Linked DNA regions of Homo sapiens: region 2 is linked to region 1. The links are contacts of gene promoters, found by promoter capture Hi-C in human tissues and cell types (Jung and others, 2019). All regions are on one chromosome and are shown on one strand. The core of a region is centred on a gene start or on the middle of the fragment in contact, and the rest is flanking DNA. Distances in the headings are between cores, read along the strand shown.

The links. The method cuts DNA at HindIII sites, captures the fragments that hold promoters and counts their contacts. A contact is called where the count stands out against the background at its distance.
Region 2: a fragment that was not itself captured here is called in contact with the fragment with the promoter of CCL21 in region 1 in 1 of the 25 tissues and cell types used here (pancreas).

Annotation. Positions count from the first base shown.
Region 1 is chr9:34,706,313-34,712,553 of GRCh38, forward strand. CCL21 (C-C motif chemokine ligand 21) reads right to left here and starts at 3,824. Exons shown (of 4, transcript NM_002989.4): 1 at 3,688-3,824; 2 at 3,465-3,585; 3 at 3,188-3,370; 4 at 2,693-3,115. The coding sequence starts at 3,754. The coding sequence ends at 3,082. It also overlaps a transcript of PHF24 not described here. The HindIII fragment of the contact is 9,492 bases long and covers 100-6,241 here.
Region 2 is chr9:34,766,123-34,772,363 of GRCh38, forward strand. It overlaps a transcript of PHF24 not described here. Among named protein-coding and RNA genes, the nearest start is that of SPATA31F1, 40 kb to the left of the region's middle. RefSeq lists an enhancer at 829-1,331. The HindIII fragment of the contact is 8,791 bases long and covers 1-6,241 here.

The DNA of each region.
Region 1 (6,241 bases), core at 2,574-5,073:
TCACTTTTTATAGTAGGAAGTCATCTGGTAATGTTTAAAATAGGTAAATCAAGAAACAGAGGTATAGGCAAAGTACTTAGACATATGGCACTAAGAAATAGCATAGGAGTTAAAGTTGTAGGAAATTATGTTATTCAGAATAAACCTTTTGGTACTTTTGGATATATTTTTTAACTGTGAGTGTGTATTATGTGATATTTTTTGAATTATGCATCAAGAGAATAAGAGAGAAAAGAGAAAGAACAGGACAATGTTGTCAAAGATGAAGGCAGACAAGGAGAGTGGCCAGTCATGATCTGATGGAATAAATAATATATTGCATGCTTACTCAGAGCAGGGCTTGAGGCAAATACCAGGCATGCAGGTGTGGCAGGAGAATTTAGTGAAATAGAGAGTTTTGTTTTTTCTGCCTATGTTTTTCTTTTCACTATAGAGTAGGCAAGAGTTTTGGCAGGGCTGGGAGTGATGTCCTGATGTCAAAGGGAGCCTGACGTCAAAGGCCTTTTGTAAATGTCTTACACCAGGGGAAAATGCCGGGCATAGAGGCTCACACCTGTAATCCCAGCAACTTGGAGCCTGAGGCAGGAGGATCCCTTGAGCCCAGGAGTTTGAGGTTACAGTGAGCTATGATCCTACCTTTGCACTCCAGCCTGGACTACAAAGCAAGCCTTAAAAAAAAAAAAAAGTAAACTTGTAAACTTGGGGAAGAGGTTATGCCCTGGAGGGGCTGAGGAGAGGGAGACAATTGTTTAGGACTGCGAAGGGATTAGTGTGTACATCCAGCCAGAGTGGGCACTGGGCTCTAATTTCTGTCTGTGATGGGGCAAGTGACAGGACTGTTGAGTAGATGGCTTCGGGGGTATCTGGGGAGGTCAAGTCCAAGCCCAGAGGCTGTCATATCTGAATTCTTATGTCTCAAATGTGGAGTCTAGGACTTGAAGAGATATACCTGCTGGAACCACAGGGGTCAGAACACTCACTGGCGAGACTGATGTCCAATGATAGGATGGTGTAGGAGGCAGGTAGGAGGCCTCCCTTGGGCCTTGAGGTTTCTGTGACCTTTGCATAACCCTTGGCAGGTGGGATCCCACAAGAGTGCCTGATGTTGAATTTCTCATCAGCACTCTAGTGCAGTAGCTTGGAGTAGGAATTAAGTTCATTTAAGGAACATTTCAAAAGTAGTATTTCTTGCATATCTGAGTTTATAGATTAATTTCACACCTGCTGCCCTAGGACAGGCAGGGGAGAGGCCCTGTCTTCACCTGCTGCAAGAGGAGCAGACAAGCCAATACTTGAGGATGTTAGGATAGGTGGTAAGTGCTGTGGCATACTCAGGCTCCTACAGAAGGAAAAGTTGATGGAGCAGCCACTTCTAGCTTCTGAGGTTCCTACCTTTCTTCTTCTTCTTCTCCTCCTTTTTTTTTCTTTTCCTGAAATGGAGTCTTGCTCTTGTCGCCCAGACTGGAGTGCAATGGCACAATCGATCTCACCTCACTGCAACCTCCGCCTCCTGGGTTCAAGTGATTCTCCTTCCTCAGCCTCCCGAGTAGCTGGGATTACAGGCGCCCGCCACAATGCCCGGCTAATTTTTGTATTTTTAGTAGAGACGGGGTTTCACCATGTTGGCCAGGCTGGTCAGGAACTCCTGACCTCATGATCCGCCTGCCTTGGCCTCCCAAAGTGCTGGGATTACAGGCCTGAGCCACCGCGCCCGGCCTTGAGGTTCCTACCTTTCTTGCCCTTCCCCAGGATCTGTTCCCTTCTTTCTCACATTGTCTGGCCCAATCTGATGGCTTCTACTCTCCCCGCCTGGAGGTGATTTGGGGAATAGAAGGGTCTTCACTCTGGGGAGGAAGAGGTAGAGGAGAGCCATCTGAGGCCTTCCAGGAGAGGAGACTGATTCACACCTGAATCCTGGGGTTCTGAAAACCTGCCCCAGGAGACTTATTCCTTGACTTCAAAGGGTTAAATGGGCTAAAGTAGTCTGGATCCCAGCCAGGAAAGAAAGGAGGAAAAAAAAAGGGAGGAGGTTTTTCCATCTGGAAGGAGGCTGAGTGAGTCCAGGGGCCCAGATAGGAATAGAAGGAGAGCACAACAGCCCCATTAAACAAAGAGGAGAGGTCAAGGCCCGAGCTTCACTGAATAGGGCTGAAGCAAGTCCCCTCGGGTCTTTGCCTCCCAGGGGCTCTCTCAGGGCTGGAACTGTGCTAGGGCAGGTTTCAATATAACTTGTGTTTGTCTGTGTTATAGATGGGCCCAAGCCACAGCTTCCCTCCTAGGGACCCTTCCAAAGAACCACTTGGAGGGTCTCATTGAATAGTTCCCAGGGAAAAGAGAGGAAGCCTCTGGGATATCTGGGGAAAGGTCTGAAGGTCATGGAAAAGATCCGAAGGTCACCCCTGGAGTTAGTGCAGGACAGAATCAGGGTCTCAGAGGTCTGCAGAGCTGTTGGGGGTGTGTGCTCCATGTCCACCACCTCTCCATTGGCAGGATGCCTCAGAAGACTGGGTCCTACCCTGTCCTTCAGCCTCCCTTTAACTGCTCAGGGGTGCAGGCACCTGAGAGGCAAGGAAACTCTTGGGGTAGATGAGAACATAGCATTTTTCAGCCTGAGCTTTCGGCTCAGAGTGTGTGACCCCACCCTGTAGGAACCTTGGCATCTCGGTGGACATAAACACATGGGAACAGGTACTTGGGTGGGAAGACAGAACAGCTTTTTATTCAGTTAGGTATAAATCATATTTACAAGGAAGAGGTGGGGTGTACTGGGGAGCCGTATCAGGTCCAGGGTCCTGATGATTCTCCTTCAAGGGGACAGTCCTGCTGCCTCCTCTCATGCTCCCTGGGAGACTCTCCCTCCTCGGTCTCTCTGGACCTGGCCTGCTGTGGGCAGCTCAGCCATGCAGGGTAGAGCTGGGAATGCAGATGGGGTGGTTAAAGCAGGAGAAAGAGTGTGGCAAGGCCAGCATGGGGTGGCTGCTCCAGGGCCCCTGAGCATAGCCTCCTTCTTGCATCTTGGGTTCAGGCTTCAAGCGCTGGTGAGGCTGGTGGGGTCTCCAGGGCTCCAGGCTGCTCACTGGGCTATGGCCCTTTAGGGGTCTGTGACCGCTCAGTCCTGTGAGGGCAGAAGAGGGGTGTGAGGGGCTGACTGAGGCTCCCCTTTACCCACATCCCTCAGATTCCTCACCTCTTGCAGCCTTTGGAGCCCTTTCCTTTCTTGCCAGTCTTGGAGGCCCCCCTGTCCTTCCTGCAGCCCTGGGCTGGTTTCTGTGGGGATGGTGTCTTGTCCAGATGCTGCATCAGCTGCTGCACCCAGAGCTCCTTTGGGTCTGCACATAGCTCTGCCTGAGAGCGCTTGCGGGGCAAGAACCTGCGGGTGGGGGCTAGTAAGCCTTCTTAGTCTTGCCCACCATGCCCTCCCCACCCCGTCACCAGCCAGTACCCACCCCTTTGTGTCCACTCACAGGATAGCTGGGATGGAGCAGCCTAAGCTTGGTTCCTGCTTCCGGTAGCTGCGGACAACCTTGGCGGGAATCTTCCTTTGGCTGTACTTGAGGCAACAGTCCTGAGCCCCTCCATCACTGCCTGCAGGGTGGGATTCACAGGGAGCCAGGGGCTGCTGGCAAGCTCCTATCCAGGCCTCTTGATCCCCTTAGCCCCATGCAAGGCCCCTCCCTGCCTTGGTACCTTGGGTCCTGGGGATGCCAAAGGCCAGAACCAGGATAAGGAGGCTCAGAGCCAGTGACTGAGCCATGTCTGTGGTAGAGGGTGAGTAAGAGGCCAGAGCTGAGGGTGAGGTGGGCAGCTGCAAGTTGGGGGTCTGTGCGTGGGCTGGGATTGGCCTGCTATTTATGTAGCTAGACACTTTCACTTCCCTTAACTTATCCCCACTCCTTTTCCTTCCTGAAAGCTGGATTTGCTGGCACCCAGCCCCACTTATCTCAAACTAAGTGGACAGTCCTCAGCTGCCAAATTTTATGTCCTCATTAGTTGAATATGTCTGGGCCTGAGCCTTCCTTCTATTCCCAGCTACTGCTTTCATGCAGGCCTCACTGCCTCTCCCCTGGAACACCATGACTGTCTCCTCACTACGCTCCAGGATCCATACCCTTCCCCTCCTTCCAGCAAATCTGATTATTAAATTGTAAGAGTTCTTTTTTTTTTTTTTTTTTTTGAGACAGGGTCTAACTCTGTCACCCAGGCTGGAGTGCAGTGGTTGATCTTGGCTCACTGAAATCTCCGCCTCCTGGGCTCGAGTGATCCTCCTACCTCAACCTCCCCAGGAGCTGGGACTACAGGCAAGCACCACTGCGCCTGGCTGATTTTTCTATTTTTTTTTTGTAGAGACGAGGTTTCACGATGTCTAGCCCAGGCTAGTCTTGAGCTCCTGGGCTCAAATGATCTGCCTGCCTCAGCCTCTTGAGGAGCTGGGACCACAGGCACATGCCACTACGTCCGGCTACTGTTTTCATTTTTCATTTTTATTTTTTCTAGAGATGAGGTCTTGCTATGTTGCCCAGTCTGGTCTTGAACTCCTGGGCTCAAGCGATCCTCCTGCCTTGGCCACCCAAAGTGCTGGAATTATAGGTATGAGCGACTGCACCTGGTCTGTAGCATAACCATTTTGATTCCCCTTTGCTTTCCTTTTCTATATATTTTGTAGTTATTTTCCTAATGGATACCTTGGTGATTATAATTAACATTCTAAACTGATAACAACCTAGTTTGAATAATACCAACTTAGTTTCAATGGTATATAAACATTTTGCTCGTATACATTTTAGTCCCTTCTTTATATTGTTATTGTCACAGATTACATCTTTATACATTGTGTTCCCATTGACATAGATTTATAATTATTGTTTAATGCATTTTCCTTTTAAATTATATAGAAAAAAGTGGGGCTACAAACTAAAAATACAATACTAGCTTTTATCTTTTTTTTTTTTTTTGACACAGGGTCTCGCTTTGTCACCCAGGCTGGAGTGCGGTGGCACAATCTCAGCTCACAGCAGCCTCGACCTCCTGGGCTCAAGTGATCCTTCCACCTCAGTCTCCTGAGTAGTGGGGCCACCATGCCTGGCTAATTTTTGTATTTTTTGTAGACACGAGGTCTCACTATGTTGCCCAGGCTAGTCTCGAACGCCTGACCTCAAGCAATTCACCCGCCTTGGCCTCCCAAAGTAATGGGATTACAAGTGTGAACCAGCATACCTGGCAATGTTGTTACTTTTTTTTTTTTTTTTTTGAGACAGAGTCTCACTCTTTCGCCCAGGCTGGAGTGCAGTGGCGTGATCTTGGCTCACTGCAACCTCCACCCTCCGGGTTCAAGCCATTCTCCTGCCTCAGCCTCCCGAGTAACTGGGATTATGGGCACCTGTCACCACATCCAGCTAATTTTTCTATTTTTTGTAGAGATGGGGTTTCACCATGTTGGCCTGGTTGGTCTCAAACTCCTGACCTCAAATGATCCGCTCACCTTGGCCTCCCAAAGTGCTGGGATTACAGACATGAGCCACTGCGCCCAGCCTGCTATGTTGTTATGTTTATCAGAGATCTTTGTTTCTTTGTGTGGCTGTGAGTTATTATTTTTTGTCCTTTTGTTTCATTCTGAAGGTCTTCCTTTAGCATTTGTTTGTTTGTTTGTTTGTTTTTTCTTTCTCCCGTTAGCTTTTCTTGTGGGCAGGTCTACTATTAATGAACTTCCTAAGTTTTGTTTATCTGGAAATGTCTTATTTCTCCTTAATTCTTGCAGCATAGTTTTGCTGGATATATAGAATTCTTGTTTGACTTTTTTTTTTCTTCAGTCTTTAAATATATCCCCCATTGTCTTTTGGCCTCCCATGGTTTCTGAAATCAGCTGGTAATCTTATTGAGAATCTCTTGTACATAATGAGTTACTTCTCTCTTGCTGCTTTTAAAATCTTTGGGTTTCAACAATTTGACTATAATTTGTCTTGGTGTGGATCTCTGAGTTTATCCTTCTTAGAGTTTGTGAACTTCTTGGGTATGTATATTCATGCTTTTCATCAGATTTCAGATGTTTTGTCATTATTTCTTCAATTTTTTTAATGCCCTGTTCCCTCTCTTCTCCTCCTGAGACTCCTGTGATGAGGTACATTTGATGGTATCCCTGAGGCTCGTTTATTTTTCTTCTCATACTTGATAATTTTAATTGTCTTATCATCAAGAATACTGATCCTTTTTTTTCTGCTTAAATTAGTTGTTGATTGCCCCTAGT
Region 2 (6,241 bases), core at 2,039-4,538, 59 kb after region 1:
TACCCTTAATATTTTTTCCTTCATTTCAACTTTGGTGAATCTGACAATTATATGTCTTAGAGTTGCTCTTCTCGAATGGTATCTTTGTGGTGTTCTCTGTATTTCCTGAATCTGAATGTTGGCCTGCCTTGCTAGATTGGAGAAGTTCTCCTGGATAATATCTTGCAGAGTGTTTTCCAACTTGGTTCCATTCTCCCCGTCACTTTCAGGTACACCAATCAGACATAGATTTGGTCTTTTCACATAGTCCCATATTTCTTGGAGGCTTTATTAGTTTCTTTTTATTCTTTTTTCTCTAAACTTCCCTTCTCGCTTCATTTCATTCATTTCATCTTCCATCACTGATACCTTTTCTTCCAGATGGTCTCATCAGCTCCTGAGGCTTCTGCATTCTTCACATAGTTCTCGAGCCTTGGCTTTCAGCTCCATCAGCTCCTTTAAGCACTTCTCTGTATTGGTTATTCTAGTTATACATTCGTCTAAATTTTTTGCAAAGTTTTTAACTCTTTGCCTTTGGTTTGAATTTCCTCCTGTAGCTCGGAGTAGTTTGAGCGTCTGAAGCCTTCTTCTCTCAACTCGTCAAAGTCATTCTCCGTCCAGCTTTGTTCCGTTGCTGGTGAGGAGCTGCATTCCTTTGGAGGAGGAGAGGTGCTCTGCTTTTTAGAGTTTCCAGTTTTTCTGCTCTGTTTTTTTCCCCATCTTTGCGGTTTTATCTACTTTTGGTCTTTGATGATGGTGATGTACAGATGGGTTTTTGGTGTGGATGTCCTTTCTGTTCGTTAGTTTTCCTTCTAACAGACAGGACCCTCAGCTGCAGGTCTGTTGGAGTTTGCTAGAGGTCCACTCCAGACCCTGTTTGCCTGTGTATCAGCAGTGGTGGCTGCAGATCAGTGGATTTTCGTGAACCGCGAATGCTGCTGTCTGATCGTTCCTCTGGAAGTTTTGTCTCAGAGGAGTACCCGGCCATGTGAGGTGTCAGTCTGCCCCTACTGGGGGGTGTCTCCCAGTTAGGCTGCTCGGGGGTCAGGGGTCAGGGACCCACTTGAGGAGGCAGTCTGCCCGTTCTCAGATCTCCAGCTGCATGCTGGCAGAACCACTGCTCTCTTCAAAGCTGTCAGACAAGGACATTTAAGTCTGCAGAGGTTACTGCTAACTTTTTGTTTGTCCGTGCCCTTCCCCCAGAGGTGGAGCCCACAGAGGCATGCAGGCCTCCTTGAGCTGTGGTGGGCTCCACCCAGTTCGAGCTTCCAGGCTGCTTTGTTTACCTAAGCAAGCCTGGGCAATGGCGGACGCCCCTCCCCCAGCCTCGCTGCTGCCTTGCAGTTTGATCTCAGACTGCTGTGCTAGCAATCAGCGAGACTCCGTGCGCGTAGGACCCTCCAAGCCAGGTGCGGGATATAGTCTTCTGGTGTGCCGTTTTTTAAGCCCGTCGGAAAGGCGCAGTATTAGGGTGGGAGTGACCCAATTTTCCAGGTGCCGTCTGTCACCCCTTTCTTTGACTAGGAAAGGGAACTCCCTGACCCCTTGCGCTTCCGGAGTGAGGCAATGCCTCGCCCTGCTTCGGCTCGCGCATGGTGCGCTGCACCCACTGTCCTGCGCCCACTGTCTGGCACTCCCTAGTGAGATGAACCGGGTACCTCAGATGGAAATGCAGAAATCACCCATCTTCTGCGTCGCTCACGCTGGGAGCTGTAGACCGGAGCTGTTCCTATTCGGCCATCTTGGCTGCCCCCATTGTCAGTTTTAAATGTAAATATCAGAGCACTTCACTTTCATGCGGTATCACTAACATTACAGAATTCATATTCTGGATGCGTGCACATCTACCGACACTATGGAAGTCAGTGGCTTCCATAATATGCTTACCTTGTACTCACTTTGAGTCTTGCTGAACTCAGACATTGGTCCACCAGAATTCTGTGTTCATGGGGCATTGCAAATGCTATATTTGAATGGTGACAGACATATTGCATCTATCTCCTCTGCTCATGCGCATACTACATTATTTCACTGGACATGGCTACAAATGACAAGTTCAAAGACAAAATTAGACTCTGCACTCCCAGAGCTTATTCTCTTTCAGAGGTTATGGGCAATGGGAAACACATTCAGGGATATTTTAGGGCTATCCCATGCAAGCTGTTTAAGAAGCTTGAATCTGGATCCGGCCAAAACCACAGACTACGGCTCAAATATGGGCCTCAGCAAGACCAGAGTCCTTCTTTTCTGGAAAGTTACAGCAAAGGGCACCTTATGCTATTCTGGGGTGTATGTAACTAGCATGGTAGTTGAGTGGTTTCTTTGGAATTAGACCTAGATTTGAATCTTACTTTTACCACTTTTTTTGTGACCTTGGGCAATTTTTTTCCCTTTCTGCATTTCAGACTTTTTAAAAAATCTGTAAAATGGAGCCAATAGTAATATCAACTTCACAGAATGCTTGTAGGATTAAATGGGATGTTGTAAATTAAATTTAGCACTGTGCCTGGCGTACGTTGGTGGCTATAATAGAAGAAAAGCTATGACAAAACACAAACCTAAGGAACACTCTCACTAAAGACTTCTTCTGGCCCCGCTACCTGCTTATCTTGCTCTTCATTGCCTTTGTTTGGTAGAGAGTGGAGTGAGCAACACAACTGGAAAACAGGAAGAAATTGAAAGCATTAAAAAATGGTAAAATGAAAGTAAAACTGTCACTATTGGAAAGTGGTATGACTGTATTCCTGAAAAACCCAAGGTAATCAACTAAAATTTACTACTACTAGTAGGTGGGGGGAGAGAGAGAGAGAGGGAGAGAGAGAGAGAATTCAGTCAGGTAGCAGAATATAAAAATTAATATGCAGAAATAAAAAACTTTTGTGTATACAAATGACAATTAGAAGATATATTGGAGAAGAAGGTCCCCTTTACAATAGCAACACAAGGAATAAATACCCAGAAACAAAATATGTAAAACCTTTTTGAGAAAAAAGGTAAATCATTTTCAAATATATAAATGCAATCCTTTTTTTGGAGACAGAATCTTGCTCTGTCACCCAGGCTGGAGTGCAGTGGCGCAGTCTTGGCTCACTGCAACTTCGCCTCCCAGGTTCAAGTGATTTTCCTGCCTCAGCCTCCCTAGTAGCTGGGATTACAGGCACCCAACACCACGCCTGGCTAATTTTTGTATTTTTACAAAATGCAAAATAGGGTTTCACCATGTTGGCCAGGCTGGTCTTGAACTCCTGACCTCAGGTGATCCGCCTGCCTCGGCCTCCCAAAGTGCTGGGATTACAGGCATGAGCCACCATGCCTGGCCATAAATGCAATCTTGAACAAATAGATATACCATATTCTAAGGGATAGAAAGACTCAACAATTCTTCCCAAGGTAATTTATAAACTAATGTGATCCCAACAAAAATGCCAATAGATTTCTCTGGTTAGGGGGCCCAATTAGACAAGCTGATTCTAAATTTATGGTTGAAGGTAAGCAAAAATATCCAGGAAAACTCTTAAAAGAAAGAACTATGATAGCACTGAGATTAGTGCTGTCAGTTAATAAGAGACTATATAGTCTTAATAATTAAAACAGTATGGTACTTATGCATAAACTGACAGACAAACAGAGCAGAACAAAATATCCAGGAATAGAGCATGTATGTATTAGTATACGAGAGAGGTAGCATCTCAAATCAGTAGAATAAACATATATCTTTTGAATAAATGGTTTTAGGACAACTGGCTTGCCTTCTTGAAAAAGATAGGCAAATTCATAGGTTGTATCATATACTTGGGTTAACTTCAAATTAATAGAGGATTTAATTTGAAAAAATCATATATAAATAGTGCTTACATGAAAATAGTAGAAGAATACATGGAATGATTCTTTTAGAACCTTATTGAGAGGAAAGACTTTTTAGTTAAGACAATGAAACCATAAAATAAAGGATTAATTTATTCTACTACATAGAATAAATATAGTGTGTTTTGCATAGTATAACACACTATAAGCAAAGCCAAAAGACAAACTACAACCTGAAAAAGTTGCAAACCTTATTAGACAAAACACTGATTTGCCTTATATGTAAAGAGTACCCAATGATCCAACAGAAAAATTGGCAAATGACATAAACAGTCCACAGAAAAAGAAATACTAATGACCCCTAAAGACATGAAAAGATGGTCAAACTTATAAGATAGATGCAAATTAAAATCACACCTTTTTTCTCACAGCAGATTGACAAAATTCAAAAGTTTCATGGCACACTCTTTTGGCAAGATGAGGAGCTACTGCAATCTCACACTTCATTGGTGAGAGTGCAAAATAGTACAATTCCTGTGGAGAAAAATTTTAGAAGTATTTATTATTAATTTCAAATATATTTTCCTTTTGACCCAATAATCCCAATTCTGATAATTATTCTCACATTTAAGTCTGTCTTGACAACAGCTTTTCAGAGGACCCAAATTAACACATACCCTTTGTGTGTGAAAGGTGGGAAAAATAAGAATATATTCATATTTGCCTATATTTTATACAAAAAAACACCAGAAAGATATAGAAGAAAAGAAGTTAGGGGAAGCAATAGAAACGGGATGGCGGTATGGGTTAGGTGGAGAAAGGGAAGAGGGCAACACTTTTGAAACCGTGTGAGTGTATTATCTATGCAAAAAAAAATTAAAGTCTCTTAAGGTAACTCTTGGAGAAAGATTTTTAAAATTTATTGTGGCCGGGCATGGTGGCTCATACCTATAATCCCAGCACTTTGGGAGGCTGAAGTGGGTGTATTACTTGAGGTCAGGAGTTAGAGACTGGCCTGACCAACATGGTGAAACCTCGTCTCTACTAAAAATACAAAATTAGCCAAGCATTGTGGCGCATGACTGTAATCCCAGCTACTCGGGAGGCTGAGGCAGGAGAATCACTTGAAACCAGGAGGCAGAGGTTGCAGTGAGCCGAGATTGAGCCAGTGCACTCCAGTGTGGGTGACAAGAGCAAAACTTTGTCTCGAAGTAAATAAATAAATAAATATCTATTGTGAAATACAGTCATGTGTCACTTAGTGACGAGGATACATTCTGACAAATGAGTCACTGGACAATTTCATTGTTGTGCCAGCATCATAGACTGTATTTACACAAACCTAGATGGTATAGCCTACTACATGCTGAGGCTATATATTGCGTAGTCTATTGCTGCTAGGCTATAAATCTATACAGCATGTTACTGTACTGAATACTGCAGGCACTTGTAACAAAATGGTAAGTACTTGTATGCCTGAACATAGAAAAGGTACAGAAAAAATACAGTTTAATCTTACGAGACCACCATTGTGTATGCAGTCCATCATTAACCAAAAAGTTATTATGTGGTATATGACTATAATTATAGACTCATGGAAAATTACAAAGATAGTACAGAGAGGACATATAAGCCTTTTGCTTGGGTTTTCCCCAATGGTTACATTTTATATAACTATAATAAAATAATCAGAACCAGGAAATTTACATTTATATAATGTATGTGATTACTTTATGCCATTTTATCATATGTGTAGATGTGTGTAACCACCACTGCTATCAAGGTACAGAACTATTCCATCATTATAAATAATCAGGAGAAAGATTTTGATTGTACATTCTAGAGAGAAACCTAACAGCTGCGGTGTTAGGAATTTAGGTCTGAACCAGGGCTCGAACCCAGAATGATTTGTTTTAAAGAAAACATTTTGTGGTGCATTTCTCCAAGGGTAAGGTTGCGGAGGCTTCAGTCAAACAGATCAATAAAATGTCCCTGTCCCCATCCTCATTTTGAGATTGGCTGAGACATGCTAGGATTTAAGATTAAAAGCTGTGTTTTATTATGGAAATTCATCAAGATAATAGCCGTTAAATAACACCAGGTGCTAAATATTAAGAGAGCTAATTTGAAAGCTGATTCTTAATTCTGAACATTAAATCAGCCTTACAAAGGTTTCAGCTCAGGTTTCAGCTGAGGTTTCAGCTCAGATTTCAGTATCTTTATGCCATAAGAACAAGTTATAATGAATTAAATTAAACTCCCCAAGAGACTGATTCCTAGGATCAGTCAACAACGCCTAAGAGCCTTGCTGATGGGAATGTGAGTTGTAAAAACTCTTCTGGAGGGAAATTTCCTTAGAGATATCGAAGGCTTTAAAATATGCCAATATTTAGACTTAATAATTTCACTTTTTGAAATTTTTCCTAAGGAAATAATTGTGTGTATAAAAATTGATTAC